7 separate regions of the Homo sapiens genome follow, and regions 1, 2, 4, 5, 6 and 7 are each linked to region 3. The links are contacts of gene promoters, found by promoter capture Hi-C in blood cells and fetal thymus (Javierre and others, 2016). All regions are on one chromosome and are shown on one strand. Each heading gives the region's core, a stretch centred on a gene start or on the middle of the fragment in contact. The rest is flanking DNA. Distances are from core to core; before and after follow the strand shown.

Region 1 (3,635 bases), core at 340-2,839, 360 kb before region 3:
ACCTTTATAATTCTAAATAATAATGACATCTATGCATTATCTCATCTCACAACTGCCTTAGTAGGTTTTATTGTTTACCCCTTTTCATAGATGAGAAAACAGAAGCACAGAGAGTTAAAAGAAATTCTCCAAAAGGACACAATGGTAGAAGCAGGAATCAACCTCAAGCCATTTGGCTCCAGTGCTCATGATTCTACCCACTGTGCAATGCTGCCCCTGTCTGACGAAAGTTGGCTCGTAGGGCAGGAACTATCTTGAACGAAGGCAGAGTGCTCTGGAAAGGATGGGGCATGTGTCAGGAAGACCTGGTAGCTCTGTTAAATGGAAGCATGTATTACACGAAGGTCATACAAAGGTTGAAATGTGCCATCCATTCATTCATTCAGCCAGTACTCATGGAGCATCTACCAGGTACCATGCACTGAAGACACGGTCACCAAGCAATGTTTCCAAAGACATGGGTTTGGGCTTGAGTACAAGTCAGGGAAGATACATTTTCAGAATTATCTAGACATTTCACACTTATCCCTTGCTTGTGGCTACCAAAAGCCACTGGATAGCAAAACCAAAAATATGTATCTCAAAGTATGGATTCAGAAACTACTTGAGGTAAAAGCAACATGAGGAGAGTGAAATATAGTATGCTCAGTTAAATTTGAATTTTGGATAAATAATAATATTTAAAGTGTGTCTCTGATGTTGCAAGGAGCATAATTTATGCTAGAAAAAGTATTCATTGTTCATCTGAATAATATTCAATTATTCATTGTTCATTGGAAATTCAGATTGGACTTGGCATCCTGTGTTTTTATTTGCTAGGTCTGGCACCCCTAAACCTGAGTGATCTTTTAACTAGGCTTCCCTGTTTCGCAAATGGGCCGAGGGAAGGGACCAGGTCAAGGTCACCCCCAGAGTAAGTCAGTGACACAGAGAGGAGAGGCCAGGTTCCAAGGAGCAGTCCAGGGCTCTTTCTGCTCCACAGGGCTGCCTTCCATGTCTCCAGTGAGAGGCTCCAGGAGCAGGGACAAACTCACAAATGACTGAATCAAACCACTTGGTCTTCCAATCCCAACGGGTCCATTAAACCTTCGTGTCAGCAGCAGTACAGGCTACAAAGCAGTTCTTAATCGTGGTGGGAAAAGTCAGAATTTTGAAAGTAAAATCCCCCAGCAGCAAGGGTTGCTTTGACCCTGGAATCAAAGGCTGCAGCCACAATAGGAAGCAGTTAAGCCCCAGGGGTCCTCCCTGCCCCACCCCCTGGCTGTAATTGTAGACAGGTGTGCAATGGCCAGGCGAGGCATGTTGGGTGAAATGCTTCAGGGAAAATAAAAAAGTAATATCGGCTGCAGCTTAGGGGAAATCAAATTTTCCCTTTAGAGCAACATCTCAGGAGACTGTGGCCAACTTCAAGGTGCCTTTATCTAAATACATTCCATTAGGAAAGGGGCAGGAAGAAGCCCTGGCCTCTCCAGGTAACTCAATCAGACTCCGTGGCATTCACAGGGATATCAGTTACCATAAGCCTTGTGGGGCAGTGAGGAGATTAGGAGGAGGATTACCTGCCACTTACTATGTGTCATCAAGGCAAGAACGGCTTCAGCTACAAGCTCTGTTTTTAATCGGGTCCTGGTGGGCTTTTCTCAAAAGGATGGCTGACAGCCGTTCTAAGCATGTTTTAAACTGTCCGTCACATCAGTGATAGGGACTCGCCAGTAGAGAGTGACAGCAATGTCAACAGTGGACACTGAAGGAATTTCTGACAAATGGCCTTTTGTGAAATGATGAGAAGTTGGACCAGGAGGTGCTGGCCCTGTTATGGAAACTCCAGGCCCACTTACATGTGCCCTTAAAGTCAACGTTTCTGGGCATATTTCTGCATTCTATTACACTCCTCAAACAGTCTGTGTGCTTGGACCAAGTCAATATGGTTGTCAAGGTGGCATCATCAGGTTTGACACCCCTCTGGGGACAGGCGAAGCCAGCATTAGCCCCCTCTCTGAATCTCAGCAGCAAGACAGGCCTGTGTAGGAGCCAAGAGGCAAGGTGGCTTGAAAAGACAGTTGGGACCCAAGCCGTTTGACTGTCTACACTAACAGTCGTCAGGCTATGAGAGGCGGGCCAAATCCAGCTCACCAGCTGTTTTTATAAATAAAGTTATGCTGGAAGCCAGCCACGCTCATTCATTCATGTATTGTTTATGGCTGCTTTCCCACTGCAGTGGCAGAGTTGAGTAGTAAAGGCGGAAACTGTATGGCCCACAGAGCTTCAATTATTTACTATCTGCCCTTTATAGAAAAAAAAAAAATGTGGGGGCTGATCCTTGGTCTGCACCTTTCCTTAAAGGAGGTCCACAGTCCCGTTAGCCCCAGATCTGCACAGAGTGGTGGGGGGAGGAGGACTGGGAATGAGCGGCATGTCTTAATACATTCTAAATTCCAAGATGTCAAGAGAATAATTGTGGAAGAGGAAACAGTGCTGAGGCCCAAGAACCAAGAATTCCAGGAGGAGTCATCTCAACTAAGTTGTCTCCACAAAGAATTCAAGTTGACCAGAAGACATAGAGTACTCACTTTTGATTAATTTTCCTAAAGCAGAATGCCCATCAGCCTCAGAGATCTCAGATGGCTTCCTACGAGCAGGAAAATTAGGAGAGGCCGGCTTTTAACTCCTTCTGACCCTGGCATTGATGCTGCCCACAATTTGCATGCAGACCCCTTTTTATTCCATAATTTCCCACAGAGTTCATTCTTTGCTTCCTGCCTGTCACTGCACAAGGACTGCAAGGCCAGAATGGTCACTCCAACATCTCTCTACACCCTGGCTGTGGTCCCAAATGGAACAACAGGCTGCTCCCTGAACACAGCTTGTTCCCAGGCTGTAGCCTCCACAGAGGTGGCCTGCCTTTCACTGCACCTGCGGACCCCACCTGTCCCACAAGGGTCTTCTCAAGTATATCCATGAAATTCTTCCAGATGCCTCCAGTCAGATGGCTCCTCTCCCTCCCTGAGCCTCCCAAGCAATTCTTCCAAACCTTTCTTGCGGGAATGACCAAATTCTATAACTCATTGGTCTTATCTGCTGCCAGGGAAATTAGTGGTTTCCATTTTTCTTGAGTGCTACAAAGATGCCGAGATGGGTTTGGTGAGAATGAAAACAACACTTAATGGAAACTCTGCCCACAGACCCTGAATTCCTTTCATATCAGTTGCCCACAGAGGAAGTTGGTGAGTCCTCAGATGGGAACTCTGTCCCTGTGCCTAGAAAAAAGGCTGGGGACCTCCAATAGCCAGAGCCAAGAAGAAAAGCCCAATGAAGATGATGGCAGCTTCGCAGAGCCTCCAGGACAAGGTGAATACACCTGTGCGTTGTGAATGACCAGCCAGGATTAGGCCAGGAGAGAAGGCTGCCTCCTCACTATTTGTGTGGGCAAGGAGGAGAGGACCACTCCAACCAGCACCACCTTCTTCACCCCTAATCCTGGCAAGGAAGATGCAGTGTTGGCCATCAGACAGCCTCAGTTTTGTGCCAGGCACCAGGGGAAGTGGAAAGCAAAACAGGCCAGGTCGCTGTCTCCACAGCACATGCATTCTGGCCCCTGACCCAACCCAGGAAGATGTGTGAGCCCAGAGATTCTG
Region 2 (3,725 bases), core at 495-2,994, 380 kb before region 3:
CCCCGCAGCAGGAACACTCAGCCAAAGGCAAGGCAGCCTTTTGAACTAAAGAAAATATTAATTTAAGACATTGTTTCAACATGAAACTACAGGAGCCTTCAGAACTCCCCGTTAGTTTGATTCAAGGCTGAGTTGCGCATAGTGTCTTTAGGGCGAAGATTGGCCAACTTACAAAAAGTTTGTTGCCAGTGAACTAACAGAAAGAATTCTGCAAGGGCCCCCAGAGCTTCAATTCCCTCACACAATCATTTCCAGTTGATTTGCCTGGAAAATCTCTTGTTGGAGAAAGAAAAGCAAAAATAGCCCTGCTGCATCTTTGCTATGAAACCCAGCTGGGCAGTTACTGGTTTGTTATTCCTGAAGCAAGAACTGGGCCTCGTGGTCCGCCAAGTGTGAATGCACTTATGAGACCATAGGAACAAATGGATGTTGAGGATTCCTGGAAAATATGAATCCTGTGGTCATGATACATGTGACATTCCAACAAGAGCTCCCACTAATCCAGTGCCATGTACCTTGGGAAACCTGTGGTCAAAGTGGCATTAGTCCCATTTTACAGATTAAAAAACTGAGGCCCAGGTCCTTCAGATAGGAAGGGGGTGGTAGAGGTGAGAGTCCAAGTGTTCCTGACCCCAAGCCACACACTGTCCCATTGCACCAGGCTGCCTGCCTGCCTGGGCTGGGCTGTCCTCTGATGCCAGGATGGCCCAAGCTTCCCTCCCAGCTGAGTTCATATACACAACTCAGCAAACAGTTCCCATCCCCTTCTGCTCCTCTTACTGGGCAGGGGTTAGTCATTGGGAATGCAAATCTGAAGGGTAGGTTTGCAGCTTCTAAAGGGGTCGGACTTCATAGGGAGTTTGGTGAGCAGAGTCCACGTATTCATCAGGCACAGGGCTCAGGACAACCTTTAAGGGTCCATGAAAGTGTTTTCATTTTTATTTATCTTAAAATTCAAAGAAAGAAAGAAATATAAGAATAATGAATGCATAATAACACATCAAGCCTGGGTTATATTCATCTTTAGACCAATGCAGTTGTAAAACAAAATGCTAATTTTTTTATGGAGAAAGGGTTTCTGAAGACAAAAATGTCTAGGGCCCCTAAGTCATAACACAGCCCAGACCAGGAGGCAGGACAAGTAGAGGCATGGCCCTGGGTGTCACGTTGAGCACTTGGGGCAGGTGCACAAAGAGGTTTGGTAAGTACCAAGGATCTGGGCTCCTGAATGCTGGGCTGGCCTCCCATTCCCCAAACCCTTCTCCTCCCCCAGTGCTGAAGAGCTTCCCTGGATAAAGGAGAGAGGCCTAGAGCCCCCACAGAGCAGACAACCTCTGCACAGGGTCTTTGGCATCCTAGAAGGCCCTGGTTCCTCACCCTCTGGCTTTTCCACTCACCAATCCCACCAGGAAATGAGGTTAACCTTGAGGGGGGCTGAGACAGATGCCTCCAAAGAAGCCAGTCCTGACCCCATGCAAGCTGCTCACCCCCACCATAGGGACAGTCCTTCCCCCACGAAACCTGCTCATCCCCACCGTAAGGGACAGTCCTGACCCCACACAAGCTGCCTATCCCCACCATAAGGGACCATACGGCACTTCATCTTCTTAGCTAATGGCAAATAACAGCATCTTAGAGATCACCTACAAAACCCCCTCATTTCACAGATGGGGAAACTGAGGTCCCATGGGGAAAGGAACTCAGTCAAGAGGAGGCGTCTCTGCATTTCTAGAAGACCCTCTCCTTTCATATCCCTGCCTGCAGAAGATTAGCCTCCATTTCACACGGATCTTTTAGTGATGGCTGCTTGGGCTCATCAGAAAGGCTTCCTGGCAAACAAAATAAAACAAAGTGAGTCACTGTCTTTTATCCCCTGCCCGCATTCACATCTTCCTGTCAGGCAGAGTGCTGAGCCCAGGGCCCTCCAGCCGGTGTGGGGACCAGAGGCTCCGATGACATAATCAGGGATGGGGCACTTTCTCCACAGGTGCCATTTATTTTCAAGCATCCGTTCGATCCCTGCCGAGGGATGAAAACCACAGTGTCAACTGCCTTCAACTCCACTCCTTTGGAGGCCTGTTTGGTATTAACATCAAAGCATTCTGCATATTTATCATTCCTCCCTCGGCATTAAGCAAGACGTCTGACAGGCACACAAAAGCGCCATAGTTTCCACTTGGACTCCAGAAAGGCATCAGCAGGTTCAAACCCAAGTTGAAAATTCCCTCAAATAGGTATATTTTCTTTACTGGAAACCTGGGAAGGATTATCACTTAGCATCCTCTCCAAAATCAATTTACGTCCACTTACCAGTCGCTTCTGGTATAAAATAAAGGAGCTTACGATTCATCATTCAGGATTTAATCAATGACACCCAGCTAGCTCTGATGAGAACATTTCTGGGGTGGAGGATGGGATAATAGACAAGACCCTGTCTTTGGTCTTACGTTTTTTTCAAGAGCAATCATGCCTACTCTTTGAAATATAATGGGAACATGTTAAAATATAGATTCAAGTAGTATCTGACAAAGGAAAATATTCAACACTGGTTGTGCTCAAAGTACTTAAGTTTTCTTTGAAAAGTTAAGAAAAGGGCAGCAATCTGGAACTTTGGGGAAAAAAAACAAGCGTGCATTTGTTCAAGAAAGAAACATGAATAGAAACAATTTCTATCACGAGTGATAATTTTCTTACTTCACATCAAAACTTTATCCTGATTATTGATATGTCCATGTATGTGTTGGCTTTGCCTCCAGTGACAGCAAACAAAGCTTGTATAACTTTCAGGTTTTTTTTTTTTAGTGTGCTGGTGGACTCTTTAATGTACTAGAACCTAGCAGGGGGAGCCCTAACGAGGGGCTTCCCGGCTCATGCATCTGAGCACTGATCCTCGATGCTATGGCTTTTATCCTCTGCTCATGGTGGGACCCATGATTTCCAGGTGATTGACAAGAGCTGTGAGTGTTTCAGTAAGGTGCTTGGGTTTCCTAAGGAAGCTGAGTTTGAATGTGGCCCAGCTGTAGACTGTGGCCACAGTGGCTTTTGCCAGTAATGCTGCCAGTGGCTGAGTGCAGCACCTTCACTCTAAAGATGAGGGAACAAAAAATCAGAGCAGAGATGGGACCACCCAGCTCACCTTGCTGGAGAGAAACAGACTGAACCTACTCCCACTTGCAGCCCTGACCATCAGAGAACCCTCATCCTGCATGAGCACCCATCCAAGCAGCTCCCTGGGCAAGATGTTTTGGTGTACCTTAGAGATGAGGAAGCAAGAGACCCTGAACGAGTGATTTTCCCAAAGCCACAAGCTAAGTTGGCTGAAGAGCAGGGCTAAATTCCATTTGTCTGTGACCCTGTTGGGAGCTAGTTCATGACACCAGGCTCCACAGGCTCAGCCACGAATGTGGAATATCCTAACAAGGGAACAAGGGAGGCAGGCAAGGCTCAGAGAGCAAAGCCACCAAGGACCCCAACTCCAGTTGTTCACTCATTCATTCATGCAATAAATATTAACTGAGCACTTGATATATACCCAGCACTGGGTAAAGCCCTAAGGCTATGAAGAAGGAGAGGACATGGGCCTTGCCCTTGTGGACATCCCAAATTACTGGGGGAGACAGGCACATAACAGAGAGCGCCAGTGAAGTTATGCATGAACCAGGGGCAGGAATGTTTCTCTGCAGTAATCCTGGGAAGAGCACGAGGAACTTGGCCGTGGTCGGCCA
Region 3 (3,645 bases), core at 142-2,641:
AGAAGACTGTGCGCGTCTTCTTCTTGCGGCACGCCGGCTTCTTCTCTGGACTTTCAGCGCCCTTCTTCCAGTCTTCTGCGCCCGGAGTGGCCGCCGCCGCCCCTACGCTCGCCCCGGCCGCGCCTGGCGCCGCTTCGCCTTCCTTTTTGCTTTCCTCGGAGTCGCTCTCCTCCAGAATGATCTCGTCCGGGCTCTTGGAGTCCAGCTCCTTGTGATCGGGGTCGGCCTTGAGCAGTGGCTCCGGAGAGTCGCGGTCTGTGCCGGAGGCGGGGGAGGAGTCTCTCAGCAAGGCCTTCTCCGAGGCTGGGGAGACAGACAGACGGACGCACACACATGCACACCGACACAGCCTTGAGCGAGGCCCGGCGCCTGGGGACGGCAGGCTCAACCCGCGCCGGCCTCCAGGTCCCAGGCCATGAGGCCTCACCATTCCCGCGGGCTGCCTCCTTCTCGGCTGGGCCAGAGAAGGGACGCCGAGTCCTGGGATCCCCCTCCTCCCGAGGACAGGCAAGCAGATGGTGGTAGCGCGGCCACCTCCTTCCATTCCCTCAGCTTCCTCGCCAGGGGCCGGCAGAACGGTTCCCTTTCGGCTTAGGCGCATTGGAATCACCCCCTCCTTCCAGGCCGTGTCCCAAGCCCCGGCCGTCCGAAGCCTCCCTATTCACGCCCGAGGCCACTTTTCCCGGGAAGCACCGTGCCCGGGGCTCCAATTCCACTTCTTTTCTCACCAAGTGGGATTGGATTAACGGGCAGCGCAACCCAGCGCGAGGGCAGGCTAGGGGCCGAAAAAAACTGACCGAGCAGAGGGTTTGCGGGTGCTGGGGTCCCAGAACTGCGGAGGGAAGCAGCGCGGGGCGGGGACGGGGCGGGCGCGCAGGGGGACAACGAAAGTTCAAAGAGAGGTCGGTACCTTCAGGTCGCGGGAGGTGGCCGCCGGCGGGGGTCAGGGTGTAGGGGTACCACCAGGCTGGGGAGCGCTCCAGGTAGTGCGCGGGCAGGGCAAACCTCTGCGCCGGGATCTCAAAGCGAGGGAAAGCCAGGTCGCCCACCTGCGAGAGCGCGAAGCCCGCGGCGCCCTCCAGGGCCCCCTTGGCCGCCGCGGCAGCGGCAGCGGCGGCGGCGGCGGCAGCCGAGGCTGGCGCGAAGAGCGTCCGTGGGGGCGGCTGAGGCTTAGGGGGCGGCCGGTGGTGGTCTCCGTTGAGCAGGTTCTTGATGGAGAACGGGGACTCCTTGGGAGCGGGTGGGGGGGGCGGCGGCGGTTGGGGCTGTGCGCTGGCGGTGCCGGCAGCGTCCGGCCCGGGTTCCGGCATGGTCCCCTCTCCTCCGGGTCCCCGGGAGGGAGGGAGCGGGACAGGCGGGCGGCGGGGCGAGCAGGCGAGAGGCCGGAAATCAGACCATAAACGGAACTCAACTACGGGGCGCAAAGTCGGGGGCCGCCCCGGGCGCAAATCCAACGGCGGGAGGGCGGAGTGAGGACCCAGACGGGCGGGCTCGCATGAGGGAGGGGTGCGGAGGGGCGGGGAGCGGCCCTGCCGCGGCACCGAGGGATCGAGGCGGCTCGGCTGCGGCTGCGGCTCCCGCGGAGGAGGCAGCAAGAGCAGTCCCCGGCTCGAGGCTGCGTCAATCCGGCGCCGGATGCTAATGATGAAATCAAAATGTCATCCAAGTTAAATGCGGGGAGTATACGGCGATTGGGCGCGTACAATGGCAAATGGGATTAGGCAGGCGAAGGCTCAGCCGAGCCCCGGCCCCGCAGCCGCCTCCGCCACCGCCCCCTCCTCGCCTTCCCTCGGATTTTGGCGCTTTGGCTTCGGGCTATAAGAGCCCGCCCGTTATTGGCTTTATATAGTCCAATTAGGCAGCAAATGAGGACAAGCCTATTAGCACAAAAGGATATTGGCTCCCGCTAAAGAGGCACTCGGAGCGCTCCTGCGAGCGCAGGAGGCGAGCGAGGGACGCGGAGCAGGCGGCGCCCTTGGCCGAAGCGCACTAACGGCCGCGAGCCCGGAGACCGCGCCTGCCTCTCCCCCCTGCGGCGCAGGGACCCGCTTCCCGCCGCCAGGCCTGCGGGAGGGGGGAGGGGCGGACCAGGCCCTCCCGGGTCACCTCGGGGTTATCTGCGCTCGCAGCTGCCGCTCCCCCGCCCCCTGGGGCTGGACAGGGGCCCGCCGCCCCCACGCAGCTGGAGAGCCACGCAGCGCCGGCCCAAGAGGCAGGACGTGACCTCGGCCCTCGGAGAACTCATCATTTTCCTACCCTTTGGGGTCCGGCGACCTCGGTATTTTTCCTAAAGCCTGCTAGGAAGGGCGAGGCCAAGAAGAGAGGGATTTGGGTTCCCCACCCACCATCCAGCCGATAGTAAGGGAATCCAGGTGTAAGTCCTCGCACTGCGTCTTCGGACTCAGAAATCCGCGTGGCCTTGGCCTTTAGCCCTGGAAAACCGAAGAGTGAGCCTTCCCCCGGGACCAGGAGTGGGTGTGCCTGTGTGCGTATGCGCGCTGACCCGGCCAAAACCCGCGCGTCACTCGGTGGGGCTGCTGGGGCAACAGCTTCTCGGCACCGACGGCTGCTCTCGGAAGGGCACCCCTCTGCTCTGGCCGCCGGTGCCCAAGGCTCGCGGATCAACTCCGAGTCTGTGACCCCGACGACAGCACTTTCTCCCAGGAAGTCTCTCCGGCCAGCTGGCGTTTGGAGCTGTCTAACTAACGCTTTAATGGGGGCAAGGTGAACCGAAGGCGCAGCGGCGTAGCTTCCTCCGCCGCGGCAAGCAGCGGCATCCGCTGCGCGTCTCGACGGCAGCGAAGTCCTTAGAGAACCACACTGGACCTTTGCAGAACGGCTTAGTGAAAGGACATTCCACTCCACTGGCTTTAAAAACAGCTCCCCGGTTCGCACGAGAAGCCCATGAGGCAGACATTTAAGACTCATGATTTAAGCATCAAGTAAATCAGAATTGTTTGTGAGGTCCCCTCCCGAGAGACAGCTTTCTTATCAGAGAAAGGTGACAAACTGGCCTCACCCTCTTCCACCCTGGTGAAGCTCCCGCACACGAGGGCTTTTTGGGATCCCTTCACCTCCCCACCGCTTTCTTTTTCGTTAGATTGAGCCTCGCCTAATTCAAGGCCGCCCTGCATTGGCAGACGTGATCGTGTGGGGTCCCCACTTGAGAGGTAGATTTTGTTTTTCGGTCCTGGGGCGTCAGACCCTCCCCCACCAAATCTCGACGGGCATATGTAATGTTTCTTTCTGCATTCATCTACAGCAGCGAACCCCATTTTTGCTTTGGAAATCTGGAAACGTAAATGGCGCTTCCATAAACAATTACTGTTATTACTCCCTTGAGTTTACACAGGGCTTTACTGGAATGCAAAACGCTACGCCATCCAAAATCTGGGTTGGAACGGATCACTGCCCTGAGACCCCAGCAGGGTGGGTCTCATACTTGGATTTTGTAAGTGGAAACCCGCGCCCAGAGAGGAGGAAACTGGGCCTAGGTCGCCCAATCGCTGCTGGATACCCAGAGGTCATTTTCCCCCAACCGCAGAAATAGCTCGATGCACGTAGGTCTATGAGGGTTGGGTGGGCACCGCCTGCACACAGCCTGCCACGCGGCCGAGTATGCGTGGAGAGACCCCGGCGTGTATG
Region 4 (3,768 bases), core at 847-3,346, 440 kb before region 3:
CTGTTAGAGCTTTTCAACCTTTCCTTGTTTTTCCTAACATTGAGAGTTTTGAAGAGTATGTGTCTGGTTTTTGGTAGACTGTCCTTCAGCTTGGGTTTGTCTGATGTTTTCTCATTAAGAGAGTGTTGTTTTGGATTTGGGAGAAGAATAAAACAAAGATGGAAACGCTTCCCTTTGCACCATGTCAAGCTGCACATGATGCCAACATGACTGACTGGAAGTGATGAGAACTTTGGTCACTCAGTTGAGGTGACACCTGCCAGTTTCCACCATCATGCAATTTACTTTCTTTCCCTCTCCATACTTGATTTGTCATGAGTGAGTCACTAGGTCTAGCCCACACCCCAGGAGAGAATTTTCCCTCAACACCTTTGAGACATGAACGATGCCCCCTGGGGTCTGATGACCTCCTGCTCAGACCTGGGGAGAGGGGAGGGCCAAGCCAGTGGCCCTGGCTCAGCAGGTCCTACCTTCTACAATTCTGCTCAGCTGCCCACTTGCCGCTCAAGGACAGGAGAGAGGCTGGCTGAGAACTGGCCTCTTGTTAAGAGCCTGGTGAAGGCTGGCAGGTTGGGGCCAGGTGGGGATGCTGACGAGGTTTGGGGGTGATCGGGCTGCCGCTTCTCCATCTCGTGGTTCTTCCCTACCTGCAGCAGAGAGAGAGAGGCCCATCTTCCCTCTTTGGGAAGCTGAGAGGTTCAGAGAGCACACAGACTTGGGGTTCTAGTCTTTCAGAAGTCTGAGATGTTGGTACTCCTCCATCTGGCAGGGCTCTGGATGATGGAGCCAACACAGAAAGAAAAATGGCCAGGTGGGAAGTATAGGGCTGTTTTGTCTGGCCAGATGCCCAGAACCTCCAATGTGAACCTTGGGTAAAAAAGCTCCATTGAAGAGAAAAGCTTCCAGTCAAGGGCAACTCATATTTTTGGAATGTGGAGTCTCCGGCGTGCCCTGGGAGAAGAGGAGGCAGAGGCTGGATCTGTCAGGCAAAATCTGGGCACACTTACCTAGATCAGCCCACTACCTGCCTGGTCACAGGTGGGCAGAGAGAGGCAAGCCTGCTTCTAGAACAGTAGTTCTCAACTTTAGTTGCATGTTAGACTCTCCTGAAGAGCATCAAAAATCATTCATTTCCTGGGTTCTGCCTCTAAACTGACTGTAATTTAATATTTCTCAGTGGGGTTTGGAAACCAGTATTTTTAAAATAATCCCCAGGTGATGGTTTCCCCAGGTGTTGAGCTAAGATTGTAACCCATTGCTTTGCTCCTCAAAATGTGGTCCTCTGACCAGCATCAGCTGGGAGACAGACTAGCCCAGCCCCGGGCGCCCCAGCACAGCTGAGTCAGAAGCTGCCTGTTAACAAGATCCTGGGGAAGTTTGGGAGGCGCTGGATTAGCAGGTAGGGTGTGCCTCCTGGATGGGAGCAGGAGAGCGGCTGCCCCCTGGTGGAGGAAGCACAGAGCGGGGCTAGAACATGGGCATCCACCTTTGAAACACAGTCACCATGCCCTCCAGCAAATGCTGTGGACGCCGACCAAACAGCTTAGCAACCCTCCTCCTGTGACAGGGACAAGCATCAGGCAGGTGCTGGGAGAAGCTGCCAGTGTTTCTCAACATGTCTGCCTCCCTGGGAGGTGAAGCATGGGCAGAATCCCCCAGCTTCCCACGGACAGGACAGAAACGTCAAGGGGGAAAAACACCTTCTCGCCAGTGGGTCCTGCCTCCTTACCTCCCGCTGCAGGCCTTCCTTGGTCAGGCCCTGTTTAAATCCCTCTGGGCCTCAGCTGCCTTCTCTGTAAAGTGGAAGCAATAATGATTTTCTTGTGGGTTGGTCACTGATGAGATGGCCCAGGTGAAAAGCTGGACCTGGTGTTCAGTACTGGTGAAGGCACAGTCAGGGCCTGCTTGGAACAATGTATTCAAGCCAGGGGCACTTCTCTGGGCCCAAATGAGCCCATTCCTCCTGCCTCCTGAGCAGTACCTCCTCCCTCTCCTCTCCTCTACCATCCCCTCCCCTCCCTTCCCCTTCTCTCCCCTCTCCTCCTCCTCCCCTCTCCTCCTCCTCCCCTCTCCTCCTCCTCCCCTCCCCTCTCCTCCTCCTCTCTTCTCTCCTCTCCCCCCTCCTCTCCCCTCTCTCCTCTCCTCTCCCCTCTCTCCTCTCCTCTCCCCTCTCTCCTCTCCTCTCCTCTCCTCTCCCCTCTCCTCTCCCTTCCTCTCCCCTCTCTCCTCTCCTCTCCCCTCTCTCCTCCTCCTCTCCTGTCTCCTCCTTCTCTCCTCTCCTCTCTTCTCCTCCTCCTCTCTCCCCTCTCCTTCCTCCTCGTCCTCCTCCTCCTCTTCCTCTCCTCTCCTCTCCAGATGTCGTCTCCAATGAAGTTTTGACCTTACTTTTGAGGGTTCCAACTCTGCCAAGACAGCACAGCCCTCCTCTGATCAGGAGGCAGAGCGACTGTCACCAAGGCTCATATCACACTGGTTTCATCAACATCTCTACTTTTGATGCGTTTGGCAAAGTGGCTCCTGAGAGGTACTTAGGAACAAACGCCAGCACCTGCTCTGTGCTACCACCTTGAAATCCACTATTTCCTGTCATCTTCCTGAGAACACTGTGATGTGTGGCTTATCATCCCCCAGGCAGATGTGTGAGGAGCTGCAGATCAGAGAGGGGAAGTAACCTGCCCACGCTCACACAGCACTGGAGCCCACTGTGAAGCTGGGGTTCGGATCCCGTCCTGGTTCTGTGAGACTCCGAAGCCTGCTCCTTTCACAAACCCTGCCACTTTCCCTTTTCCCTTTCTCCCTTCTCTCCGTCGTGTTTTTGGTTAAACAAGACAATTAATTTTTACTCAAAGTGAAAAATAACAGAATAGGAAGATACAGTTCCATAAAGAAATATAAATCAATGCATCTGCTAGAAAATAGCTGCTGCTTTACCCGGCCCTGGGGGTGCTACTCCCCTGCCTGTGATTTGCAGCAGACGCTGTGATTTTAAAAAAAGTTCTGAATCCCTTGAGGAAGAATCAGAGATGAGAAGGGTTGAAGGCTTCTGTGCTCCCGTCCAGCTTCCTTCACCCCAGCCCCCACCACCCTGACAGGTCTGTCCCTAGCAGAAAAGCCTAAATCAGGGGTAGGGGACCTCAGGGGAAGGCGATCCCCACCCCAACCCACCCCTTAGCATCAGTTTCTGCTGGATCTTGAAGTTTGGAAATTTGAGGAGCATGAAGTCCATGTTTCTCTGGGTCAATGGGAACAAAATTCAGGATTTTTTTTAGAAATGTCCCCTAAAATAAGCTTTTCAGACCGACCCCTCCCACTTCCTAAACTGCTTCCTAGCCCTGCTCTCACGTGACACTCCCCGCACTGCATGACAGAACTTGCCCCCTCTTGGTTGAAGCTGTGGTTTCACTGAGGGATATTAAGTCCGAACTCGGGCCAGGTCCCCAAGGGAGAGACGTGCATGAAGGAGGCAAAGGAGGCAAAGACACAGTGCGCCATGGCTGAGACTGGGCCTCAACTCCAGTGGGAGGTTTGGGTAAAATACAACAAACTCGGTCAGCTGGAGCTACCGCCCCCGGGACCGCTCAGTGCACCTCCCCAGAAACCCTCCCTGTCCCTCCTTCCCACTCCAGTGGGAAGAGAGGCCCCATGGGCCATGGAAGCAGAGCAGAGGGGCCCCCAGGCAGGCTTCCAGAGGGAGAAGTGAAGGGGGTGGCTTCATGGCCTCAGGCTACCCTGAGAAAGCCTGAGACCTGCTGCTAGCTGCTAGCTGCT
Region 5 (3,685 bases), core at 57-2,556, 310 kb before region 3:
TCTCTCATCTCTCTATGCCCACACCACTATGTGTGTCCTGCTTCTGCCACCTTTGACTCAGGTTATTTTCTGATATCTGCATGTCTGTCTCTCTAGACTGTGAGCTCCTCAGAGGACAAGTCATGATTGACTCATGGGTGTATCTGTCCAGTCAAGAGACTGGCAAAGAGTAGGTGCCCAGTAAATATTCACTGCATAAATGGCTGAATGATGACACCTGACCCTTTCCACCTGGCCCCATTACAATCAAATGGCAGCAGTGGGGATTAAACAGATAACCAGGCGGTCCATACATCTCACCACCACCTTCACCAGTAGCACCGCTGAGGCCAACTAGAAAGCCAGGGAGGGGCTCCTCTGTCACTAGCAAGGTCTGATTTTCTTGGGTTAACTGGCCTAAAGATTAAGGAGTCACCCCATCAATTGGTAACCCTTGCCCATCACCAATGAAAGGTAGACTTGACCTAGAAGATGTCTGAGTCCCTGATGCAGGGACGGAGTAGGGGAGGGGAAGGAAAAGGAAATGCAAGAAATTTGGACACAGGGTAGGTGTCTTACATGTTTTACAGGGCAGAGCTTTTAACAAAAGGCCCATTTACAGGCAGGAAAGGGTGCAGAAGAAGACATCATTTTTTTCTCGAGGTGCTGTCTGCTGACTGAGCGGGTGTCACTGACTCAACCTGGGGAGATGCATGGGGCCTTTGCTGGCTCTGGCCTGTGATGTGAGCTGAGCAAGTTGCTGAAGCTCTGTGGGTGTCCTTCCCCAGCTTCTAAAGTGAGAGACTGAGCCCCCTAGTCTAGCCCCCATTAATCAAGCCCTGGGACTACACAAATGACCCCTCAGGGCCCCACATCACCACCACCAAGATGGCAGGAGGTTCTCATTCAGCCCTCCCTGGCTCCGTGTGGCCCAAGCAGGTGCCCCCACTGGGCCTCAGCCTGCCTGTCCACAAAATGGGGACTCGAGTGTAGACTTCAATATCTGAGAATGGAGTTTGAGGAAGGATTAATTAAACAAGAACCTAGAAGGCCCTGAGTGAGAGAGGGCTGTTCCACCCCCAGGCAACGAAGAGAACAAAGCCCCTTCTCCCTCTCTCAGGTTGTCTGGGACCCAAGTGACACTGGGACAATGAACAAGCTGCTTACCTTATCAGAGAGGGGGAGCCCCACTGTGTAGCCAGCCCACCTCGGCCTGGCCTGCCATGTGGACAGGAGGTGCCACAGCCTCCCAGCCGCTGGGCTGAGCTTCCACTCCTGGATGTTTCTGCCTGGATCTCCTAGCAGCACGGAGCTCCTCTGGCCTCACCTAGGGGATGCCCACAAGATGGACCAGGTGAGGAGGGCAGGGCAGGGGACTAACCCAGAGCGCCTCCCATAAAACACACACACACATCCACCTCTGAACCCCAGCAGCTCTGTTTGTTTAATCTCTATCTGCTGGAGTTCTTTTTTTCTTTTTTCTTTTTTTGAGAAGGAGTCTCACTCTATCACCCAGGCTGGAGTGCAGTGGTGGGATCCTGGCTCACTGCAACCTCCACCTCCTGGGTTCAAGCTGTTCTCCTGCCTCAGCCTCCCGAGTAGCTGGGATTATAGGCATGCACCGCCATGCCCAACAGATTTTTTGTCTGTTTAGTAGAGACAGGGTTTTACCATGTTGGCCAGGCTGGTCTCCAACTCCTGAGCTCAGGTGATCCGCCCACTTTGGCCTTCCAAAGTGCTGGGATTACAGGCATGAGCTACCACACCTGGCCGTCTATCTGCTGGGGCTCTTTGTGAGCTCTCTTTTGGAGAATGGTTCTGTTACTCAAATAAAACATCTTTTAAATTTGTAATGAGGCCAGGTGTGGTGGCTCATGCCTGTAATCTCAGCACTTTGGGAGGCCGAGGTGGATGGATCACCTGAGGTCAGGAGTTCGAGACCAGCCTGGCCAACATGGTGAAACCCTGTCTCTACTAGAAAAAAAAAAAAAAAATTAGCTGGGCATGGTAGCATGCGCCTGTAGTCCCAGCTACTCAAGAGGCTGAGGCGGGAGAGTCACTTGAACTCGGGAGGCAAAGGTTGCAGTGAGCCGGGATTGTGCCACTGCACTCCAGCCTGGGCAACAGAGTGAGACTCTGTCTCAAAAATAAATAGATAGGCTGGGCGCAGTGGCTCACGCCTGTAATCCCAGCACTTTGGGAGGCCAAGACAGGCAGATCACCTGAGGTCGGGAGTTTGAGATCAGCCTGGCTAACATAGTGAAAGCCCATCTCTACTAAGTATACAAAATTAGCTGGGTGTGGTGGTGCGTGCCTGTAATCCCAGCTACTTGGGAGGCTGAGGCAGAAGCATCGCTTGAACCCAGGAAGCAGAGGTTGCAGTGAGCCAGGATCACGCCACTGCACTCCAGCCTGGGCAACAGAGTAAGACTCCATCTCCAAAACAAAATTAATTAATTAATTAATTAATTTGCAATGAACTGAGTCCAACCTGCTCTGTACACATAGACAATTGTAGCCCTAATGGGTAGGTGGGACCAGCCCAAGGAAATCCTGCAAGCTCGTGACAGAGGTTGGACCAGAAGCCACGACCCAGGCCCCCTCCCCAGACTCATCCAAAAATGACACAGCAACCACCACCACTGCCTGCACGGATCATTGCCATGTACGACCCGGACAAGATCACTATACACCGTCTACATGAATAGATTCACAACAGCCCAGAAAGGCAGGAGCTATCCCTTCATTCCCAATTCTGTGGATGGAAAAGCTGAGGCTCAGAACGTTAGGCCACTGCTGTAAGGTCTCCCAGCTAGTGAGCACTGGAGCTGGGATTTGAACCCAGCAGTCAAGCTTCTGAGCCTACATCCGTAACTGCCAACTTACACTGACAGTGTCTCTCTCTGCAGAGCTGGCAGGCCTGGCCCTCCTCCCTCCTCCTTGTTGGGGCTTTCTCAGTTTCCATGAAGAGTGGGAGGCTGAGGCCCTAAGCCCTTCTGGGTTTGGAGCCCAGAGTTCCTTTGGCAAGACTGTAGGGTTGTCAGATTTAGTAAGTGAAATTATCGGGGACACACTTTATACTAAAAGATCGTATTTGTTGTTTAACTGAAATTCAAATGTGGCTGGGTATGCTGTGTCTTACCTGGTAGGCTTACGGGGGTGGCATGTGCTTGGGGAGCTGTGAGGTCGGGGCGGCTCGCCTGTCCCTGCCTCCTGGGGCCCACAGCCATTCCCACATCCAGGCCCTTGTCCCATGCCCTAGGCTCCTTCACAGCATGGCAGCCAACTATGCCCTAGGTGGAGGCTCTGCCCGTAGGGCTATCTTGCCACCAATACCCTCCAGGGTCATTTGAGATTAAGGAAGGACTGAGGGGCAAGTGGAGGCATTTAAACAATTTGGCTCAGAGGGAAGCAGATGCCACTGACTCTCCCTGGCTACAGTGGCACTCAGGGCCTTGCCCTGGCTACCTCCACTGCTGCAGGAGATGCCTGGCCTGTGACCACTGTGTTCACACGGGAGGGACAGCAGAGCACCAAGCCTAGCATCACTGGACATTGCTGACCTGTCCCTCTTTGGCCACCACAGCACCTTGAACAGCACCTGGGACGTTGCTGACACATGAGTGTTTGTGGGATAGCTAAAGAGTCTAGGGAAGGTATGGAAATGCCAAGCACCTCCTCCTCCCCAAGCCCAAGGCAGACATTG
Region 6 (3,567 bases), core at 977-3,476, 340 kb before region 3:
AGCAGTCTTAGTGAAATTCCCCGGATCTCTTTCCAAATCCACAGATGAAGACAACTTTATTATGAACTTTCTAGAGAGTCCTGGCCTTGCCCTGCATTGCTGTCTGAGCCTCCGGTCTACACTAATCCCCAAAGCACACGGCAGGGCAGCCCAATAACCAGCCACCCCTTCTTCTTCCCAGCCTCCCCGTCACCTCTAGGGCATAACCAAACCGTGGCCATGTGGCTGGGAGACATTTATCACGGAATTACAGCTCCGGGACGCGGTCTCCGTGGCTGTGACGTGATGACTGTGTATTTCACGCCTCTCAGTTTCCCAGCTGGGATTCAGAGATTTAAAGACATGGGAGATGTATTTTTAAATTTATGAGAGGGCCATTGATTTAATTAATTGTGCCAGAAGAGTGCAGTCAGTCACAATAAGAATTCTTAAAGGGAAAGGGGACCAAAGGAGGCTGGTCTCAACTGTTTGGGGCTGATAAAGCTTGTGTTTCTTCAATAAAGCTATCTTGCTAAGGATCTGGGTGTAGAACAAATTCTTTGGAGGGCATGTCCATAGGCAGATGATGCACCCACAAGCATTTGGGGAAACACCCAATTGGGGAAACACCCACCAAAACAGCTCTTCTTTGAGAAACTCCGTGTAATATGATCCTTCAAAAAGGACAAAAACCGATTCATCTGCCAGAATTCGCTTCTCCTTTCACACTGGTTCATTCTCTCATCTGATTGGCGCTGGCTGGGCTGGAGCCCATTCTCCTGGATTCTGGGAATTAAGCTTTCCCCAGCAGCTACACTAAAGACAATGTAGTCCCATTGGCTGACCAACTCCCAGATTCATGCACCAAAGACACCTGCAACCTGCCTGGTCCAACCTGCGAATTTTACAGATGGGAAAACTCAGTCCTGGAGGCCTTTCCTGGTGAGAGACAAAGGTAGGGTCAGAATTCAAGTCTCCTGATCCCATTCAGAGCTCTTTCTGCTGATGGTACCCTCTCTCTTGGCTGGGAGGGCCTCAGCTAGTATTTTTTTCAAAATGTGCAATTATTTCCTTTACTTTTAGATTTTAACTCTTGCACAGGATGTTTTAAATGAACTTAGGGTAATTTCTGCCAGCATTACCACCTCTTTTTCTTTCTACGCACTTACAATAACATCAACATTTTACTCTGGTATCTTAAACCCAGAGGCTGGGCCTGAGCGGAGACACCGCCCAGTAGACACCAAGGTCGAGGCTGGGGTGAAATCACTTCCACTGCCAACTGAACTCCATGTTTCTGTTCTGGAAGATCTAATGGAGAACCCAGGAGAGAGGACAGCAGGGAGGAGAAGGCAGCCCTAATTCAGATGCAGATGTCACTTAGAACTTTTTACTTACACCTATAAGAGGAGTCTGTCAATATCAGAGACATGCTGGCTGTCATCTGGATATGATCCCCCAGATCGTCTCCAATCAAGAACTCTCAGAAAGGGCAGGTGGGTAAGTCTGAGACTTTACAGTCAGAACTGGCAACTAGCATTGCTTACCCCAGAAAACCTTTCTTTACCCTATGCCACCCAGCCTAGGTCATTCCTATCCCCCAACACGAGGCTTCTCTCTCTTCCTGAACACCATTGTGACAGTGCGGGCTGGGTGTCTGTTGGCCCATCTGACTCCCCACTGGGCTGGGAGCTCTTTGAAAGCAGGGACCTTGTCTGCGCTGTTGCATCTTACTGTTCTAGCAGAGTGCCTGGCACATAATATGTGCTCAAGAAATGCCAATGGCTTGAATGAATGAACAACCTCAGAGATCTGGCTCATTCACTCACTTTATAGAAGAGGAAACTAAGGTCCAAAGGGTCAAGTGGGAAATTAGAAGTGGAACCAGAGCAAGGATCAGGGCCCCCACCCTGACTTCTCTGGACTTCACATCTTTGCGAATTTACAAGGAAGCAATAAGGGTTAACCTGAACTGCTTTGTTCTGCTGTCCCAGTGTCATGCAAACCTCCTTTTCTCCACCTCTCACTCTCCAGTCCACTGCCAAGGCCTTGGAAATCCTGCAAGTTTTTATGCAAATGACCTTTGGAAACTAAAAGAAGCCAATGTTTATTTTTCATTCAAAGGTCCAGATGGGTTATATCTGCTGGGCCTGGCTGTGCCCCTGCTATCAGATGGGCATGCAAATGACCCCACTAGAAAAGACCTGGAAGAGAATAGCTCTGTTTCCAAACACACAGACATTTGCCTGGACATTTCCCTAACTCGTTCCTCTTTTCCATTTCAAACAATATATGGATCTCACAATTCCCCAGCCTAGTAAAATTCTAACAGCAGGTCGATAGAGGCCTATTGACTGGGAAGAACTTAACTGCCTTCCAGCTAGGCAGTGAGAAGTGGCCTTACCTCCTCACCTCAGCACCCAGAAATTTTAATCTAGCATGAGACCCACTTTACTAAGAAAAAAGAAGACGGGCCATTTGCCACCATCAGGGACCCAGGGGCACCTGGGAGGAAGCCCTTTGAAGAAGGCCCTTAAAAAGAGCCATTGCAAACCAAGAACCATTATTCTAGGTCATCGGCTCAGAATATCAAGATGTGAGTTTTTTGAATGCTAGTTTTATCCCCAGTTCCCAACTGCCTGTGTCATTGGGAGGGCCTAATGACCAACCTCTGAGCACTATGAGATTACTCCAGGCCAGGACAGGTAGATCTTAACCCACAGGCAAAGCACAGGCCTTCCTGTGATACCATTTTGAAATGATCTCAAGCACTTACATAGTTTGCTACATGAATGACATATGTTTTACTGTGTATTCCACACTCCCTTTGAGAGTGGGATATCTCATCAGACACTCTGTGTGAAAACTTGGAGTGAACTCCCTCCTCTCAGGAATGTGATGTCAAACCTTATCAGAATTCCCATTTGTGAGTTATGGACCTCAACTACTGGACTTCAGAATACATATTCTGTTACCAAGAGTTTAATGGACATTTGGAGAGCTTAGGCCGTGGTAGTCTACACAGTTGGCTGCTTCTAAAGACAACCAGTATGTCTGCCATCACAGCTGCTTCTCCAACACCAAGAGCTCAGGTGCAACTAGGCGACACCCTGTTAGCCTCGGGACTAATCACCAGCTCCAGCACAGTCCCCCAGTATGGAGGGTCCTTACGCTGGACCTCCAGATCTCTGCCCTGATGGTTGAGCCAGCTTCTCTGAGAGCTGCTTGTAGGAAGGTATACTCCAACCTTTACTCAGACCTTACCTTCCCCAGAGAGACCTGCTTCCATCCTAACTGAGCAACCAGACTGTAATAATTTTGGAACCCACTCACTAAGTGGTTAATGTACTTTATCTATCAAGCAGATTCCCTGTGAGCTTTCTTCTCTTTATTCTTTAAGCATCGTGACCCTAAGAAGAGATTTTTTTTGGTACGGCAATACACTATGAAATTCAAAAAATCATACTTTGATCATCTCCTTATTTCCACCGTATATAACATTCTCCCTTCCCAGGAAGGACAGAACTAGGGGCCTTATTTTAGGGTCCCTGGGACCCATCTGGATCCTGAAAAGAAAACTGGTTGCAG
Region 7 (3,623 bases), core at 1,025-3,524, 290 kb before region 3:
GTCAGTGCCTCTTCAGATGTCTGCTTTTTGATATTAACCACTTGCTGGCCCGTGTCAGCAGAAAGGCTCTGTATAGATGTCGTTTAGCGGGAATTCCTAAAGCCCTCCCCTCCCTCTAAGGCCTCCAGAGACCACCCTACCTTCTAGGTCACAAATGAGATGTCTTCTAGGTCACAAATGAGATGTCTGAACCTTTATACCTGCTGGTCTCCAGCTAAAACATATCTTTGGCAATGATTTGCAGATGACTTCCATGGTTCCCAACGTGGACAAATCACAAGAAGCTGCCCTCCCTTGGCATTGGAACCCACTCCTCCCCAGATTTCTCTGTGTGGATCCTTCTTCCAGTTACTGTCATTGGGAAGCTGAGCCACTAACACCTAGGTGGGGAGTAAGAATATTTTCTTTAGAACTCGAGCTTCCTCCAATGGAACAAATCCTGCCAATTTGAAATTCCTCCAGCTCTCCAAAACAAGGAAACCGTATGCTTAATTACCAAACATCTGTTGCCGAGAACACCCCCTCGCCTTTGCAGCTCTGATCTCACGGTATGAATTTTAAAATCTGTCAGCAAGGGATCACAAAAGCTCCGGGAGCAAAGAGCTGCTCATGTTAACCTCTGAACCAGATAATCTAACAGTAATCCATTCAGAACTAATCAAACATTTACAGAACCGCACCGGCATCCTGGCAAACAATTCGTCATCTTCACGCGCTCATTACACTTCCAACATCTCAATCTACCTATGCAAATGAAGCAAGGGAGCTGACATCGGGACCATGTACAGAAATTATAAACAAATATTCATCCATTATGCTGCTGAAATTTAACAGCTGAAGTACTAACAGTAGCTGAACTTCAAGCCTTGAGTATCAATTATTTATGAACCTAAAACTGACAGGACTGTGTAGGTGAATTAGCTGCATATGTCAAGCTTTGTTATAAATCCCAACCTACTGTAAAACTCATTTTCATAGAATGTAGGTACAAGGCTGACAATATATCAACAGCACGGCATTAATAATTTAGAAGAATGAGACTGTCAGGGAACACCTTGCAAACTGTGCTCTGCTCCATAGTTGATATTACAAATAAAAAAGTCAAATAAAATGAATTTCCCATAAACAGAGAATCAAATAAAGCATTTTCTCCATAATTTTATTTTCAATTTTCAAAAACATATCGGTTGATACTTTCATGTTTAGGTACTAGAAGCATCACCCTAAATTTTCTTAATTTCTTCTTTTTTTTCCTCCCAAGGAAATGGCAGGAAAATTTTTGATCTAGTGATAAATGAGAGGTTTCCTTGTCTTTTATTTTTATGACAAAATAAATGCAAAATGAAAAGGAGCTGGAACAAGCATAATGTTGTTTGCTGAAGTGAAATTGTTTGCTATGGTTTGCCAATGAAAGTATATAATAAAACAAAGTGCTATGCAGTAATAAAGACGGTTAATTGAGACAGTATTTCTCGAGCTCATGTTAGGATTTTCCTGTCACTCTCTATTCAGAAATGCAGAAGCGCAGCCAGTTGCGAAATCACAGCGACTTGCTCAATTTGCAGTGTGCGATCTTCTCCTGCAGGGCTCCAACCTGAATATGCCAACAGAGAGGGCAGAAAATTCCCTGGCCAGGCTGTGGAAGGTGCGGACTGGAGGCTGCGCTGTCTTGAACCTCTGCCATCTCAGATAAAATAGCCCAAGGCACAGTCCCATCTCCCTGCCGGTCTCCCCTTCCCTCTCCCTCACTGCCAGCTTTAACCTTAGCAATCATTTTTAGGCGACTGATGCTCAACTACGGAGACCCTTTGTCACTGCTAATGACTTCTCCCTGTCCATCTTCTCCCGACTCGGGATATCTATGGCTCTGTTGCCACATTTGTCATCTCTGGCCAGGGAGGAGGCATCTCTCAGTGCGAGGGGGAACTTCAGCCTGTGTTCTTGGTCCTGGGTACCTGCTAGATGCAAAGCTTCAGCCCTCTTTGGGCGAGGAGACATGAAACACTTCGTCTCCTCTCTCATCCTCCGCTCTCCACATTCTTGGTCTTTAAGGTCAGGGGAACGGAGCCTCCTTGTCTCCAACCCCTCTTCCACGTTGGCATCTCTGCTGGCTGGGACATTCCTCACACCTTCCCAAGGTGAGGCCCCTCCTGAAGCACAGAAGCCCTGGCCAGGTGAGCCGAAGCAGCTCAGCCAACCAGACCTAAGCACGCATTAGCTCCTAATGGGCGACCTGTTCCAATTTCCTGCCTCCCTCCCACCCAGGAGCCAAACAAATCAGAAATAGTTGTCAGCAGCCTGTAGCTCCCCTCATCTCCATGAGGCTCAAGTAAAAATTAAACATTTCTCCCCAACTCACAGCCCAAAGACATAGGCCACGATTTGAAATCTGGTGACAGAGTCCTTATCTGGGTTTCCACCCAGAGGCTGAGCCTGTGTTGTCACAGGTGGAGGTTCCTGCAGGAGACACCTGAGCGCCTTCCAAAGTCTCTGCGGGCAAAGCCTGCATCCTTCCTGGTACTTGCTGATGTCCATACATTTTCTTCTCTGCAACCTTTCAGGGCATCGTTAAGCTTGCCAAGTTCTTCCAAATGGCCTTTAGTGGAGGGAACCCTGGCAAGGAGTTTTTTTTTTTTTTTTTTTTTTTTTTTAGATACTACATGAAATTACACTCTACAAAGTAGCTCCTTAGACACCCTGCTGGGGCTGGGGAAATTCTCATTTGTGAATGCTCCTTCTGCTGCGTAGGTAGAAAAGACAGCAACCCATTTTCTTCTCTTTAATCCTGATGCCAATGAGAAGGAGAAAGCTGTTCCTCCACGTGCCCCAGACAGGGCCTAAACACACGCTAGCTTCCACGGCCACCACTCTGCCCCTCGCAAACACACTCAATTTATTGTGGTCAAAGCAAGAGAAGTCTCCCTTTCCCTTTATAGGTAAATTCCCCATGACCAAAGTGACAGAAACGTGAGCAGGCAACAGTGTGACTGGCCTGGTTTTGGACCATTCTGCTCCCTTGAAAAATTACCCTGGAAAGTTAATTGATTAGAATGTCTAGGAAATGCTTGCTGTTATTCAAATGACTGTGAAAGTAGCCTCTAATGTTTCCAGTTTTATGAAATGCTAAAATATTTACACTCTTTTTACTTCAATCAAGGGGAAATCATTTGGATCTGTTTAAAAGGGGAAAGAATTAAGAGAGCTGACATTTCCGGAAGAAACAACGTTCAGGCATGCAACTGGAATTTAAATGAGTATCTGCTTTCGATGCTGACAGCAGGAGCCTTCCCTCCCATATGCCCGCAACTGCACACTCAAACCTCAGGTAGCACAGAAAAGACCAGCGCTCCGACTCCTGGGGCCAGTGGTGCTGGATTTTATTTGCACTTTTCTGGGTTTAAATATTTTGAGAATTTTTTTAAAAAGCATTTCTCTCTTCTCTGTTTATGATTCCCATTGGCTTGCACTTTTTCCTTCCGGTGTTTCATTCAGCAGAAGGGAAGGAGAGGGGTCGTTAGTTTATTCCCAAGAACAGCTAAAAGCATCACAGGAGTTATGGGCGCTGTGTTCTATGGAAGAGGAAAATATATATTTTGGTCTTGAAAGTTATTGCTTCAATTACC

What was found. The method cuts DNA at HindIII sites, captures the fragments that hold promoters and counts their contacts. A CHiCAGO score of 5 or more calls a contact.
Region 1: a contact is called between a fragment that was not itself captured here and the fragment with the promoter of HMX3 in region 3, in 2 of 17 cell types (M2 macrophages and M0 macrophages). The highest score is 8.7, in M2 macrophages.
Region 2: a contact is called between a fragment that was not itself captured here and the fragment with the promoter of HMX3 in region 3, in 12 of 17 cell types (M2 macrophages, total CD4 T cells, naive CD4 T cells and 9 more). The highest score is 10.9, in M2 macrophages.
Region 4: a contact is called between a fragment that was not itself captured here and the fragment with the promoter of HMX3 in region 3, in 16 of 17 cell types (M0 macrophages, monocytes, M2 macrophages and 13 more). The highest score is 13.3, in M0 macrophages.
Region 5: a fragment that was not itself captured here is called in contact with the fragment with the promoter of HMX3 in region 3 in 1 of 17 cell types (M2 macrophages); the score reaches 6.8 in M2 macrophages.
Region 6: a fragment that was not itself captured here is called in contact with the fragment with the promoter of HMX3 in region 3 in 3 of 17 cell types (M2 macrophages, M0 macrophages and M1 macrophages); the score reaches 7.9 in M2 macrophages.
Region 7: a contact is called between a fragment that was not itself captured here and the fragment with the promoter of HMX3 in region 3, in 2 of 17 cell types (M1 macrophages and M2 macrophages). The highest score is 5.9, in M1 macrophages.

Annotation. Positions count from the first base shown.
Region 1 is chr10:123,495,069-123,498,703 of GRCh38, reverse strand. The region is part of intron 8 of LINC02641 (long intergenic non-protein coding RNA 2641); the gene reads right to left. Among named protein-coding and RNA genes, the nearest start is that of LINC02641, 150 kb to the right of the region's middle. RefSeq lists enhancers at 517-1,243, 1,244-1,971. The HindIII fragment of the contact is 7,946 bases long and covers 1-3,635 here.
Region 2 is chr10:123,515,918-123,519,642 of GRCh38, reverse strand. The region is part of intron 8 of LINC02641 (long intergenic non-protein coding RNA 2641); the gene reads right to left. Among named protein-coding and RNA genes, the nearest start is that of GPR26, 150 kb to the left of the region's middle. The HindIII fragment of the contact is 2,059 bases long and covers 715-2,773 here.
Region 3 is chr10:123,133,716-123,137,360 of GRCh38, reverse strand. HMX3 (H6 family homeobox 3) reads right to left here and starts at 1,391. Exons shown (of 2, transcript NM_001105574.2): 1 at 911-1,391; 2 at 1-303. The coding sequence starts at 1,310. RefSeq lists enhancers at 1-43, 1,226-2,176 and silencers at 963-1,012, 1,023-1,432, 1,483-1,562, 1,943-2,072, 2,103-2,222. The HindIII fragment of the contact is 8,924 bases long and covers 1-3,645 here.
Region 4 is chr10:123,571,081-123,574,848 of GRCh38, reverse strand. No RefSeq gene overlaps it. Among named protein-coding and RNA genes, the nearest start is that of GPR26, 93 kb to the left of the region's middle. The HindIII fragment of the contact is 2,389 bases long and covers 902-3,290 here.
Region 5 is chr10:123,446,974-123,450,658 of GRCh38, reverse strand. LINC02641 (long intergenic non-protein coding RNA 2641) reads right to left here. Exons shown (of 12, transcript XR_007062326.1): 7 at 1,147-1,306. Among named protein-coding and RNA genes, the nearest start is that of LINC02641, 100 kb to the right of the region's middle. RefSeq lists an enhancer at 3,257-3,685. The HindIII fragment of the contact is 3,057 bases long and covers 1-2,834 here.
Region 6 is chr10:123,476,861-123,480,427 of GRCh38, reverse strand. The region is part of intron 7 of LINC02641 (long intergenic non-protein coding RNA 2641); the gene reads right to left. Among named protein-coding and RNA genes, the nearest start is that of LINC02641, 130 kb to the right of the region's middle. The HindIII fragment of the contact is 2,893 bases long and covers 780-3,567 here.
Region 7 is chr10:123,425,529-123,429,151 of GRCh38, reverse strand. The region is part of intron 6 of LINC02641 (long intergenic non-protein coding RNA 2641); the gene reads right to left. Among named protein-coding and RNA genes, the nearest start is that of LINC02641, 79 kb to the right of the region's middle. The HindIII fragment of the contact is 603 bases long and covers 1,973-2,575 here.